Linked DNA regions of Homo sapiens: all the other regions are linked to region 3. Evidence: promoter capture Hi-C in 16 types of primary human blood cells and fetal thymus (Javierre and others, 2016). All regions are on one chromosome and are shown on one strand. Each heading gives the region's core, a stretch centred on a gene start or on the middle of the fragment in contact. The rest is flanking DNA. Distances are from core to core; before and after follow the strand shown. Region 1 has its middle 240 kb from the start of GRIN3A. Region 2 overlaps LINC00587 (long intergenic non-protein coding RNA 587). Region 3 holds the start of OR13D1 (olfactory receptor family 13 subfamily D member 1). Region 4 overlaps LINC00587 (long intergenic non-protein coding RNA 587).

Region 1 (2,803 bases), core at 283-2,782, 2.7 Mb after region 3:
ATCACCTGATGTCAGGAAACCAAGACCAGCCTGGTCAACATGGTGAACCTCCATCTCTACTAAAAATACAAAAATTAGCTGGGCGCATTGATGCATCCCTGTAGTCCCAGCTACTCAAGATGCTGAGGCAAGACAATTGATTGAACCTGGGAAGAGGAGGCTGCAGTGACCTGAGATCGCACCACTGCACTCCAGCCTAGGTGACAGAGTGAGGCTCTGTCTCAAAAACATGTAAATAAATAAATAAAGTTTTCCTTGCCTTTAAATTTGTTGGTGCCGTTTTGGCTTCAACACCAGTGTGGAGGCTGGACGACACTCCCATTGTCTCAGCAACGGGATGTCTCTATCTACAACGGTCCACCTCAGCTCTCCCTTTCCTCAGGATAAGTCCCTTCTCCTTTGAGGGCATAGCAGTGAAGAAAAGACCACTCTTTCACTGTAGCTTTGATGTTTTAGCTCTGGAGGTCCACAGGCATTATGGACTCCAGTCAGATGTATTTCCTGTGAAAGAACAAGCGTACCTTGGAAATATTGTGAGTTCAGTTTGAGGCCACCACAATGAAGTGAACATTACAATAAAGAAGGTCACAGAAATTTTTCGGTTTCCCATTGCATATAAAAGTTACATTTAACTATACTCTAGTCTGTCTACTAAGTGTGCAATAACATTATATCTATCTTAACGAGAAATGCATATACCTTAATTTAAAAATACTTTCTTACAAAAATGCTAATTACCATCTGAGCTTCAACAAGTCATCATCTTTTTGTTGGTGGAGGATTTATGTGATGGCTGCTGACTGATCAGGCTGGTGGTTGTTGAAGGTTGGGGTAATTGTGGCAATTTTTAAAAATAAGACAATGGAGTTTGCCACACTGATTAACTCTTCCTTTTATGAAAGATTTCTCTGGAGCATGGGATGCTGTTAAAAGCATTTTACTGCAGTAGAACTTCTTTCAAAATTGAAGTCATTTCTCTCAAACTCCATTGCTGCTTTATCAACTAAATTTATACATTATCCTAAGTCCTTCATTGTCACTTCATCAATGTGTATGGCATCTTCACTTGGGGGTAGGCTCCATCTGAAGAAACTACTTTCTTTGCTAATTCATAAGAAGCAATTTATCCATTTAAGTTTTATCATGAGATTTCAGCAATTCAGTCACATCTTTGGGCTCCACTTCTAAATCTAGTTATCTTGCTAGTCCTAGGTGGCACCTTCTTTCATTATAAAGCTGTTTTGTCTACATGAAAAATCTGTTGTTTAGTGTAGCTACCTTCATCAATTATCTTAGCTAGATCTTTTGAATAACTTACTGAAGCTTCTACTTCACACTTGCTCCATCATCTTGTACTTTTATGTTATGAAGACGGGTTATTTTCTTAAACCTCATGAACTAACATTTGCTACCTTCAAAGTTTTCTTCTGCAGCTTCCTCACCTCTTGCAGCCTCGATAGAATTGAAGAGTTGGTGCCTTGCTCCACATTAGGCTTTGGCTTAAGGGAGTGTAGTGGCTGGTTTGATCTTCTATCCAGACCACTAAAATATTCTATCAGCAATTTCACTGAAACAGCAAAAGTTGTTTCACTTTCTTATCATTTGTGTGTTCACTGGTGTAGCACTTTTAATTTTCTTCAAGAAGATTTCCTTTGCCACCACAATTTTGCTAACAGCATGGCACAAGAGGCCCAGCTTTTGGCCTATCTCAACTTTTGACATGCTTTTTTCACTAAGCTTAATCATGTCTAGCTTCTGATTGTATGTGAGAGATGTATGACAATTCCTTTCCTGTGAACAATTAAAGGCCATTGTAGGGCCTCTAATTATTCATTGACCCAATTTCATCATTGTTGTGCCTCAGGACATAGAGAGGACTGAGGAGAGAGAGAGACAGGGGGGAACAGCTGGCCAGTGGAGCAGTCAGAACATACATAACATTTATTAAGTTCTCTGTCTTATATGGGCACAGTTCATGGAGCCCCAAAACAATTACAACAGTAACACTGAAGATCACTGACCACAGATCACCATGAGATAGAATAATTTTTTAAAAAGTTTGAAATATTGCATGAATTATGAAAATGTGACACAGAGATACAAAGTGGGTACATGCTATTGGAAAAATAGTCCTGATAGACTGGCTGGATGCCCTGCCAGGGTTGCCATGGCCTTTAATTAGTTTTAAAAATGCAATAACTGTGAGGCACAATTAAGTGAAGCAAAATAAAATGAAGTATGCCTGTAAGTAGTTCAATATTCAAATCAATTTCTAGTTAGCACACAGTGTGAACATTCAAGGCAAGCCTAGACATTGACAAATGTATCATGTGAATGCGGCTTAGGCTGTCACTCTGGGAACATTGCTATAAAAATAGAAAGGAGCTCTGAATTAGCAAGAAATTCAGTAAGCCTCAACAGAGGAAGCCTTGCAAATAACATTTAATTTTATAAAATAATATAGTCTAAATTTTCTTTAATATTGACCAAATCCATTATTATACAAGAAGGGGACAGACAAAAGTCTACTAGCATGAAAAGACATTAATAGTTGGCTGCAGACATGTGAGATAAATAAACGTCTTTCTCCTCCAATCTGTAAGATGATGTTATACTCATTCAGAATTGTCTATAAAAATATTATATCACTTCTGTACTGTATCTACCAAATATTTGTGGAGCATAAAGCTCTGCAAATAAAATGGCATTCAGAGATGCCATGACACAAGAGGCACGTAATTCTTGTGACACCTCATGGTGCCTTTAACATTATTCATGTCCAAACATTGTTCCTAATAGTAAT
Region 2 (2,700 bases), core at 53-2,552, 2.1 Mb after region 3:
ACAAAGTATACATTTTTCTCATCTGCACACATTTTAGATTGGTATTTTAAGATAGGTATTTTAAGATTGACCACATATTTGATCATAAAGCAAGTCTCAATAAATACAAAAAATTTTAAATCATAGCAAGTACACTCTAGGACCATAGTACAGTAAAAATAGTAATCATTAGGACATCTCTCAAAACTGCACAAATATACAGAATTTAAATGATCTGATCCTGAATAATTCCTAGGGAACTTCAAAATTAAGAAAGAAATCAAGAATTTTTTAATTAATGAGAACAAAGATACAACATATTGGAATCTCTGGGACACTGCTAAACCATGTTAAGAGGAAAGTTTATAATGCTAAATGCTCATATCAAAAACTTACAAAGATCTCACAATAACCTAATATCACACTTAAAGTATCTAGAAAACAAAAAGCAAACCAACCCCAAAGCTAGCAGGAGAAAAACAACTAAAATTAGAGATGAAATGAAAAAATTGAGATGCAAACAACCATACAAAAGATTGATTAAACCAAGAGTTGTTCCTTCAAAAAAAAAATGATAGCTAGATTATCAAAAACAGAAGAGATCCAAATAGTGCAATGTTAAATGACAAAGATGACATTACAACTCATACCAGAAAACTACAACAGATCTTCAGAGAATACTGCAAACAACTCTATGCACATAAATTGTAAAATTTAGAGGAAATGAGTAAATTCCTGGAAAAAATACCATCTCCCAAGATTGCATCAGGAAGAGATTGAAACCCTTAATAGACCAATATTGAGTTCTGAAATTGAATTAATAATAAACAACCTACCAATCGAACAAACAAAAATCCATTAAACAGATGGATTTAGAGCCAAATTGTATCAGGCTTACAAGAACTGATACCAATCCTATTGAAACTATTCCAAAAAATCAAGGAGGAGGGGCTTCTCCCTAAGTCAATATATGAAGCCAGCCTCAACCTGATACCAATATCTGGCAGAGACACAACAAAAAAAGGAAACCTTAGGCCCATGTCCCTGATGTACCTAAACACAAAAATCCTCAGTAAAATACTAGCAAAATGAATCCAGCAGCAGACCAGAAAGTTAAAACACCACGTTCAAGTAAACTTTATTCCTTGTTCAACATATGTAAATCAATAAATGTAATTCACCACATATACAAATCAAAAGCAAAAATGATATAGTCATCTCAATAGATGTAGAAATAAGTTTTGATAAAATCCAGTATACCTTCACGATAAAAATCCTCAATCGACTAGGCATCCAAGGAACATACCTCAAAAAAATAAGTCATCTATGACACATCCACAGTCAAAATCATTTTGAATAGCTAAAAGCTGGAAACATTCCCCTTGAGAACTGGAACAAGATAAGGATGATCATTCTTACCACCCCAATCAACATAATACTCAATATTCTAGTTAGCGCAATCAGGCAAGTGAAAGAAACAAAAGGCATCCAAATAGGAAAAAAAGAACTCAAATTATCTTTCTTCACTGATAGTATGATTCTATAGCCAGAATACCCTAAAGACTCTGCCAAAAGGTTACTAGCATCGATAAATAACTTTATAAAATTTCAGGCTACAAAATCGATGTATGAAAATCAGTAGCATTTTTATACACTAGTAACATTCATGGGAGAACCAAATCAAGAACACAATCTCATTTACAATATCCACAAAGAAAAGACCTGGGAATGTATCTCACCAAGGAGATAAAAGATTTCCACGAGGAGATCTACAAAACAATGGTGAAAGAAATCAGAGTCAACACACACAAAACATGGAAAAACATTTCATGCTCATGGATTATAAGAATCTATATTATTTAAATGATCATATTGCCCAAAGTAATTTATTGATTCAATGCTGTTCCTATCACTCTACCAATGTTATTCACAGGATTAGCAAAACTATTCTAACATATAAAAACAAAAAAGAGCCCAAATAGCCAAAGCAATCCAAAGCAAAAGAACAAAGACAGAGGCATCACACTACCTGAATTCAAACTATACCATAAGGCTAAAATAACCAAAACAGCATGGTCCCAGTACAAAAACAAACACATAGACCAATGGAACAGAAGAGAAAACTCAGAAATAAGCCATCTGATCTTCAAGGCAAACTAAAACAAGCAATGGGGAAAGGACTTCCTATTCAAGAAATGGTTCTGGGATAACTGGATACCTATATTCAGAAGAATGAAACTGCTTATCTTTCATTATAGTCAAAAAATTAATTCAGGGTGAATTAAAGTTTTAAATTTAAGATCTAAACTCTAAAAATCCTAGAAGAAAACCAAAAAATACCCTTCTCAACATTGGTCTTGGCATAGAATTTTTGGCTAAGTCCCCAAATGCATTTGCGACAAAAACAAAAATCAACAAGTGGGACCTAATTAAACTAAAGAGCTTCTGCACAGCAAAAGAAACTATCAAAAGAGTAAACAGACAACCTACATAATGAGAAAAAATACTCACAAACTATGCTTCTGACAAAGGTCTAATATCCGGAATCTATAAAAAACAAATACCAAGTAAAAAACATGAATAGATGTTTATCAAAAGAAGACATAAGAAGCAACAAACATATATGAAAAAATCTTCAATATCATTATCAGAGAAATACGAATTAAAGCCACAATGGGATACCATCTCACACCAGTCAGCATAGCTATTATTAAAAAGTCA
Region 3 (2,915 bases), core at 213-2,712:
TTTCTATTAATATATATTATGCAGATCTGTCAATTGGGTGGCAATATTGTGCAGGGATGCTGCACAACAACTATATATCCACTTCAAAGTGACTGAGAAAGGAGACAACAGAAAAGAAAGGAAGAGAAAGAAAATATACGGAGGAGAGGAGAGAGAGTAGCAGAATAGAGAGAGAGGACAAAATCAGAGGAGTAGAGAGAGACACACACATGGCAGGAGAGAGAAGAAAGAGAGACAGACAGAGAGAGAGACTGAGTGAGAGAGAGAGATTCATTTTAATGGACAGCATCAATATTTTTATAGGGCCAGTTTGCAGAACTGCTTACAGCTACAAACCCAGCAGACAAGGCACTATTAAGAAGGTTACATGAGCATGAAAATTCTACGTTGAAAAGAATGGGAATCTAATAGTTGGTTTTGCAAACACACAAGCTCTCGTGACAGTAGGTTTTGCAGTATCTAAATACAAAAGACAAGCTCTCTTGCCCCATTGAGGATATCGCATGCCCAAGGTTTTTCACATTTTCAATAAATGCAGATGTCTGCTCAGGACTTTCTTTACAGCCTCTTTGACCTCTTTATTCCTGAGGCTATAGATGATGGGATTTAACATTGGGCTTACCACTCCATAAGACAGCCCAATAATCTCATCAGATGTATTAGTGTTCTTTGACTTGGGTTTCATGTACATAAAAAGGGCTGAACCGTAGAATAAGATGACCACAATCGAGTGCGCTGAACAGGTAGAGAAGGCTTTCTTTCTTCCCTCAGCACAATTAATTCTCAGGATGGAAGAGAGAATAAACACATAGGAGATGAAAATTAACAGTAGAAGAATCACCAGTGAAACAATATTTGTCACTGTCATGATAAGCACATTGATGGTGATATCTGAACAAACAAGTTTTAGAAGGGCCAAAATTTCACAGGTAATATGATCAATGACATTATTCCCACAGAAAGGCAACATCATTGTCAGAACTGTTTGCAATAGGGAGGTCAGACAGCCTATGATCCAGGACCATGCAGCCATTTGCACATACAGCACTCCGTTCATGATGATGGAGTACCTCAGTGGGTTGCAGATGGCCACATAGTGGTCATAGGCCATCACAGCCAGGAGGACACACTCAGTGGAGCCCAAGCCAAGGGACACAACCATCTGCAGAGCACAGCCAATGAAGGAGATGGATTTTCTCTCAGACATAAATATAATAAGCATTGGAGGAATGGATGAGGATGTGTAACAGATGTCCAAGAATGAGAGGTTTCCAAGAAAGAAATACATGGGAGTATGGAGGCGAGAATCCAAGATGGTGATGATAATGAGGAGGCTATTTCCCAGGAGGATTATCATGTACATGATGAGGCAGAGCAGGAACAGAAAAAGCTGGAGCTCTGGATATTGGGAAAGCCCCACCAGAAAGAATTCAGTCATGGCAGAGTAATTTCTTGTCTCCATGTGTTCTAGGTCACCTGCCTGCTGGGTAGTATAGAAAAGGACATGATTCAGGTAAATTGAAATGTTTGATACATCAAAATCTGTAAATCTGTACATCTACAAATTTTCAATACAAATTTGCTTCCGATATTGTGTTTGATTCTTAGAATACTCTCAGTAAGCAAAACAGTATGGATATTGTACTAGTTTTATTGATTATGAAAATTGAGACATTGAGAAACCCAATATATCTTAGGACTACACAGCAGCACATTCAAAGCTACCAATACTGCCAGAATTATTCTGGGAAGTGTCAAATAAAGTTTAGGAACATGCTGCTTTCAAATGTAGAAAGAGATTTTGAACTTAAAGCTGTTTTTTTGATGAAGCTGGCCTCTATTTAAAAGATTTTATAGACTGCCAGTGACATATCATTTAACCTGGATGTAGCTTTGGTAAGTTGTTTATTTTTCTGAGTTGCAGATAGTTCATAGTAAGCTTGGAAAAAGCAATAATTATTTCTTAGAGTATAGTTAGAATTAGATAAAATATTAGGTGCCTAGAACCTAATGGTTCCAACATGGCATATGTGTGTGTGTGTGTGTGTATGCATATATGTAATATAATTATATTTACCTTATACAAGATATAATATTAAATGTATTTTTATACACATGCATTTTATGAATTATAGTATAATATTTAGATCTACCAATCTTAAAAGGGAAAAGTAGATTTAGCTTTTTAAAGGTAAAAGGTTTAAAGTTTGAAACCACACTTGACAGACTGTGAACATTTTTGTTCTCAGTGGGATATTTCATTGCACTTCTTTCAAAAACCTGTTAGGAGTCTGAGAATCATTGGAGGACTGTTCTAGAAGCTTCCAGAGATTAAGGAGTCTAGGTCCCAGCATGTACAGCTTTTTTTCCAGGCCCTGGGATTCTCTCTTCTTAAGTGTAGTATTACTGCCATTTTACAAAGTAGGAAACAGAGACAAAGAAAAGTTTAAGTAACTTTCTCAAGGTCATACAGATAGTAAATACTAAAGCCAGAATTCAATATCTAGCCATCTGGCTATAGAATCAGCCCTTTTACCCACCATACACTACTCTCTCTCAGTGGTTACTACACAGATTCCACGCAAGAGAAGACTATTACAAAAATGTATCTTCTGTTGGGGTACAGTGAGACAGCAAACATCATTTACTTGTGATTCTGATCATATGTGATGTGATGGAGAACTCTGAAGGCTGGACCACTTACTTTTTCCTGTAGCTTTTGATTGTGGTCTGCTCAGTTTTCTTTTCTTTTCTCTCGCTGTTTTTTTTTTTTTTTTTTTTTTTTAAGACGGAATCTTGCTCTGTTGCTTGGGCTGGAGTGCAATGGCGCGATCTCAGCTCACTGCAACCTCCACCTCCCACATTCAAGCGATTCTCCTGCCTCAGCCTCCCGAGTAGCTGAGATTACTGGCATG
Region 4 (2,767 bases), core at 114-2,613, 2.0 Mb after region 3:
GAAATAGACTCTTTAGTACCTCTTACAGAATCTTATTATTTTCAATGTAGAGCATTCACAGGCAATATATTTCCTTATTACACAGCTCTAAGTGTTTAAAAAAATTATTTTGAACTATCCTCTGAGGTTCACAGAGAAAAAAAACATAAATATGTGGCCTATAGGAATATCCAGCTGAACGCTTTCCATTTTTGAGACACCAGGCTAATCACTTTAAGTGCATTACTTTAGTTAAATATATCCAAAGCTCTATAAGATAGATATTATTATCATTTCTATTTTACAACTAAGGAAATGGGGATTTCAAGAGCCTCAAATTGCCATAAGGCAAACAGTTAGTAACTTGATTTTAACTCATGTATATGTGCATCTTAAGTATCTGATCTTAATTTACAACCAATGGTGCAATTCATAAATAATTAAACAAATATTTTGAATGCCATTTGAATATTTACTATTCGCTTCCTCGTGGGGAAAGGAACTATCACTTAGACTCAATTTAAATAAGTGACGAATAAAAATGGAAATTACAACTTGAACAACCTCACATAGCTAAGACACAGTGGAATTGATACTTTACAAAAAGTGATTAGAAACTATATTTCAAGACAAACATAACTTCAAAGAAACAGAAAACAAAAGGTAAAGAGATGAAAAATTAATTATATTAGTTGGTTAGTCAATCAGGTGATTACTCTTTTAATTACATCTAAACACAACTTTGAATATGATGTATCAATGATAATGTAAAGAATAGAAATTATTCTCTAAAATAATTTCAACCATTTAAATGGATATCTTTCCAAATAGTCAATGCTTTTAGTTAATTTTTAGTTAATTTTTTAGTATATCACACATACTACTGTTAGAATAAATTAATAGACTATTTTTGATATATTGTTTCACTGAATGTTTCCTACATGTAGCATCTCATTTAATTATAACAAACCATTTTACCAACAACTGCTATCCTGACATTTGCCATGTCATATATAATTATTAATGTTTTCAATTATAATATGTTCTACAATAAAAGAAAAGGAAGATCTGAGGAACTGTTTTATATAATAGATGTCTCAGAAAGATAACAGGTAAATGCAGTAAGTGATTCTGGATTAGCTCCAGGATTGGAAAAACAAAAGAAATTTAAAACACAATATTGGAACAATAAAATAAATTTGTATACAGGATCTAATATGGATAATAGCATGGCATTTATATTAAATATCTTGATTTTGATAGCTATATTGTGGTATATAATAGAAAAACCTCAATCTTAGTAAATACATAGTGAAGTACTAAGGAATAAATGAGTACTATGTTCCTAACTTACACTCAAATGATTTTAAAATATATACACAAAATCATATACTCTTAGAGTGAGGAAGAAAGTGAGAGAAGAGAGAAAACAGAAAAAAGAGAATAATGATAAATGGGAAACTTTATAATTGGTGGCTCTGGATAAAGGATATATGATTTATATACACTATTTTTGTAACTTTTCTATAAGTCTAAAATTATATCAATAATTTACATGTGCACACACACACATACAATGAGTTACTCTTGGTATCTTATTATGTATAAAATTAAGCTATCAATGCCTTGCTTCTTACAATATTGAGAGAATTAAATAAAATAACCTATCTAGTGAAATAGTGTTATGTGTTGAAATAGCAAGTGTTCTGTATGTTTATTTTACAATTAAATAAATAATGATTGAATAAGTAATTTATCAAAGAGAACATTGCCAGAAAATAGCACAGCTATGCCTTAGAATGCATGTTTACCAATCTCATAACCAGTGTAATTATTTTAAAATTTAATTTGATGCTGGAAAATCTGTACACAAAAAGAGTGATATAATTCATTGAAGAGAATGAGTTAATCATTTTGTGATGTTCTGCACATTTTGCTTGATTTATTGCTGTCTAGGTTATTCCAAATAGAATTAGTAAATAATGACAGGTTTCTCAATATTTTAAATACTTTCGTTAATTCACTAGAACCAATTTTGAAACAATTACCTGAAGATACTACTAGCATTGTGTCATACTTTCCTCCATTTAATGGCATATGTAAAAATAAGAAACAAAACAAAAATGAGAATAAATAAAACTGACCAACATAATCTAAAATTCTAGCATGAAATATTTTACTATTATTCTAATTCCTGGTTTTAATTAAAATGAATTTTGTAAGTAAGTTATCTGCAGTATAAGAATACTATTTTGTATATAACCAGTCATTTTTATATCTAAAATATAAATATACTTCTTGTTATCTAGTTCCAGTCTATATTAAATTTTCTCAGATACATGTGCATGCATGTATGTGTTCATGTGTGTATCATAATGTTTTTCAGTTTTTATAGGATTACTCTACTTTTTCTCATTACATTTTTCACAGGATGGATTTTTCCTAACTGAACAATTTACTGATGTAAACCACACCTTTTCATTAGCATGTTGAAAACAAATTCTTTGAATCAGAGAAAGATAATAAATATTAAATATGTCAGTTTAGGACAAAAAAAAACAAACTAAAAGAGAAACCAAGGAAAATTAGATATATGAGATCACATACAAAAGCAGTGAAATTGTAAAGTGTAAGTTTGATATTATTAAGACTTAAATATACCTTAATTTGCAATTAATCCTTTATAAGAATGAAATATCTATCATATGCTTCACAATCAATATAGAATATGAAGAAATAACATAACTCAATAAATAAGGGAATAAAGCTTCTAATGCAGACATGAGTG

Evidence for each region. The method cuts DNA at HindIII sites, captures the fragments that hold promoters and counts their contacts. A CHiCAGO score of 5 or more calls a contact.
Region 1: a contact is called between a fragment that was not itself captured here and the fragment with the promoter of OR13D1 in region 3, in 2 of 17 cell types (M2 macrophages and M0 macrophages). The highest score is 12.0, in M2 macrophages.
Region 2: a fragment that was not itself captured here is called in contact with the fragment with the promoter of OR13D1 in region 3 in 1 of 17 cell types (M0 macrophages); the score reaches 5.4 in M0 macrophages.
Region 4: a fragment that was not itself captured here is called in contact with the fragment with the promoter of OR13D1 in region 3 in 1 of 17 cell types (M2 macrophages); the score reaches 6.7 in M2 macrophages.

Annotation. Positions count from the first base shown.
Region 1 is chr9:101,980,901-101,983,703 of GRCh38, reverse strand. No RefSeq gene overlaps it. Among named protein-coding and RNA genes, the nearest start is that of GRIN3A, 240 kb to the right of the region's middle. The HindIII fragment of the contact is 414 bases long and covers 1,326-1,739 here.
Region 2 is chr9:102,627,222-102,629,921 of GRCh38, reverse strand. All of the region lies in intron 3 of LINC00587 (long intergenic non-protein coding RNA 587), which reads right to left. Among named protein-coding and RNA genes, the nearest start is that of LINC00587, 110 kb to the right of the region's middle. The HindIII fragment of the contact is 4,148 bases long and covers 1-2,700 here.
Region 3 is chr9:104,693,065-104,695,979 of GRCh38, reverse strand. OR13D1 (olfactory receptor family 13 subfamily D member 1) reads right to left here and starts at 1,462. Exons shown (of 1, transcript NM_001004484.2): 1 at 518-1,462. The coding sequence starts at 1,462. The coding sequence ends at 518. The region is part of intron 1 of LOC107987105 (a long non-coding RNA gene); the gene reads left to right. The HindIII fragment of the contact is 5,977 bases long and covers 1-1,941 here.
Region 4 is chr9:102,647,203-102,649,969 of GRCh38, reverse strand. The region is part of intron 4 of LINC00587 (long intergenic non-protein coding RNA 587); the gene reads right to left. Among named protein-coding and RNA genes, the nearest start is that of LINC00587, 130 kb to the right of the region's middle. The HindIII fragment of the contact is 2,770 bases long and covers 1-2,748 here.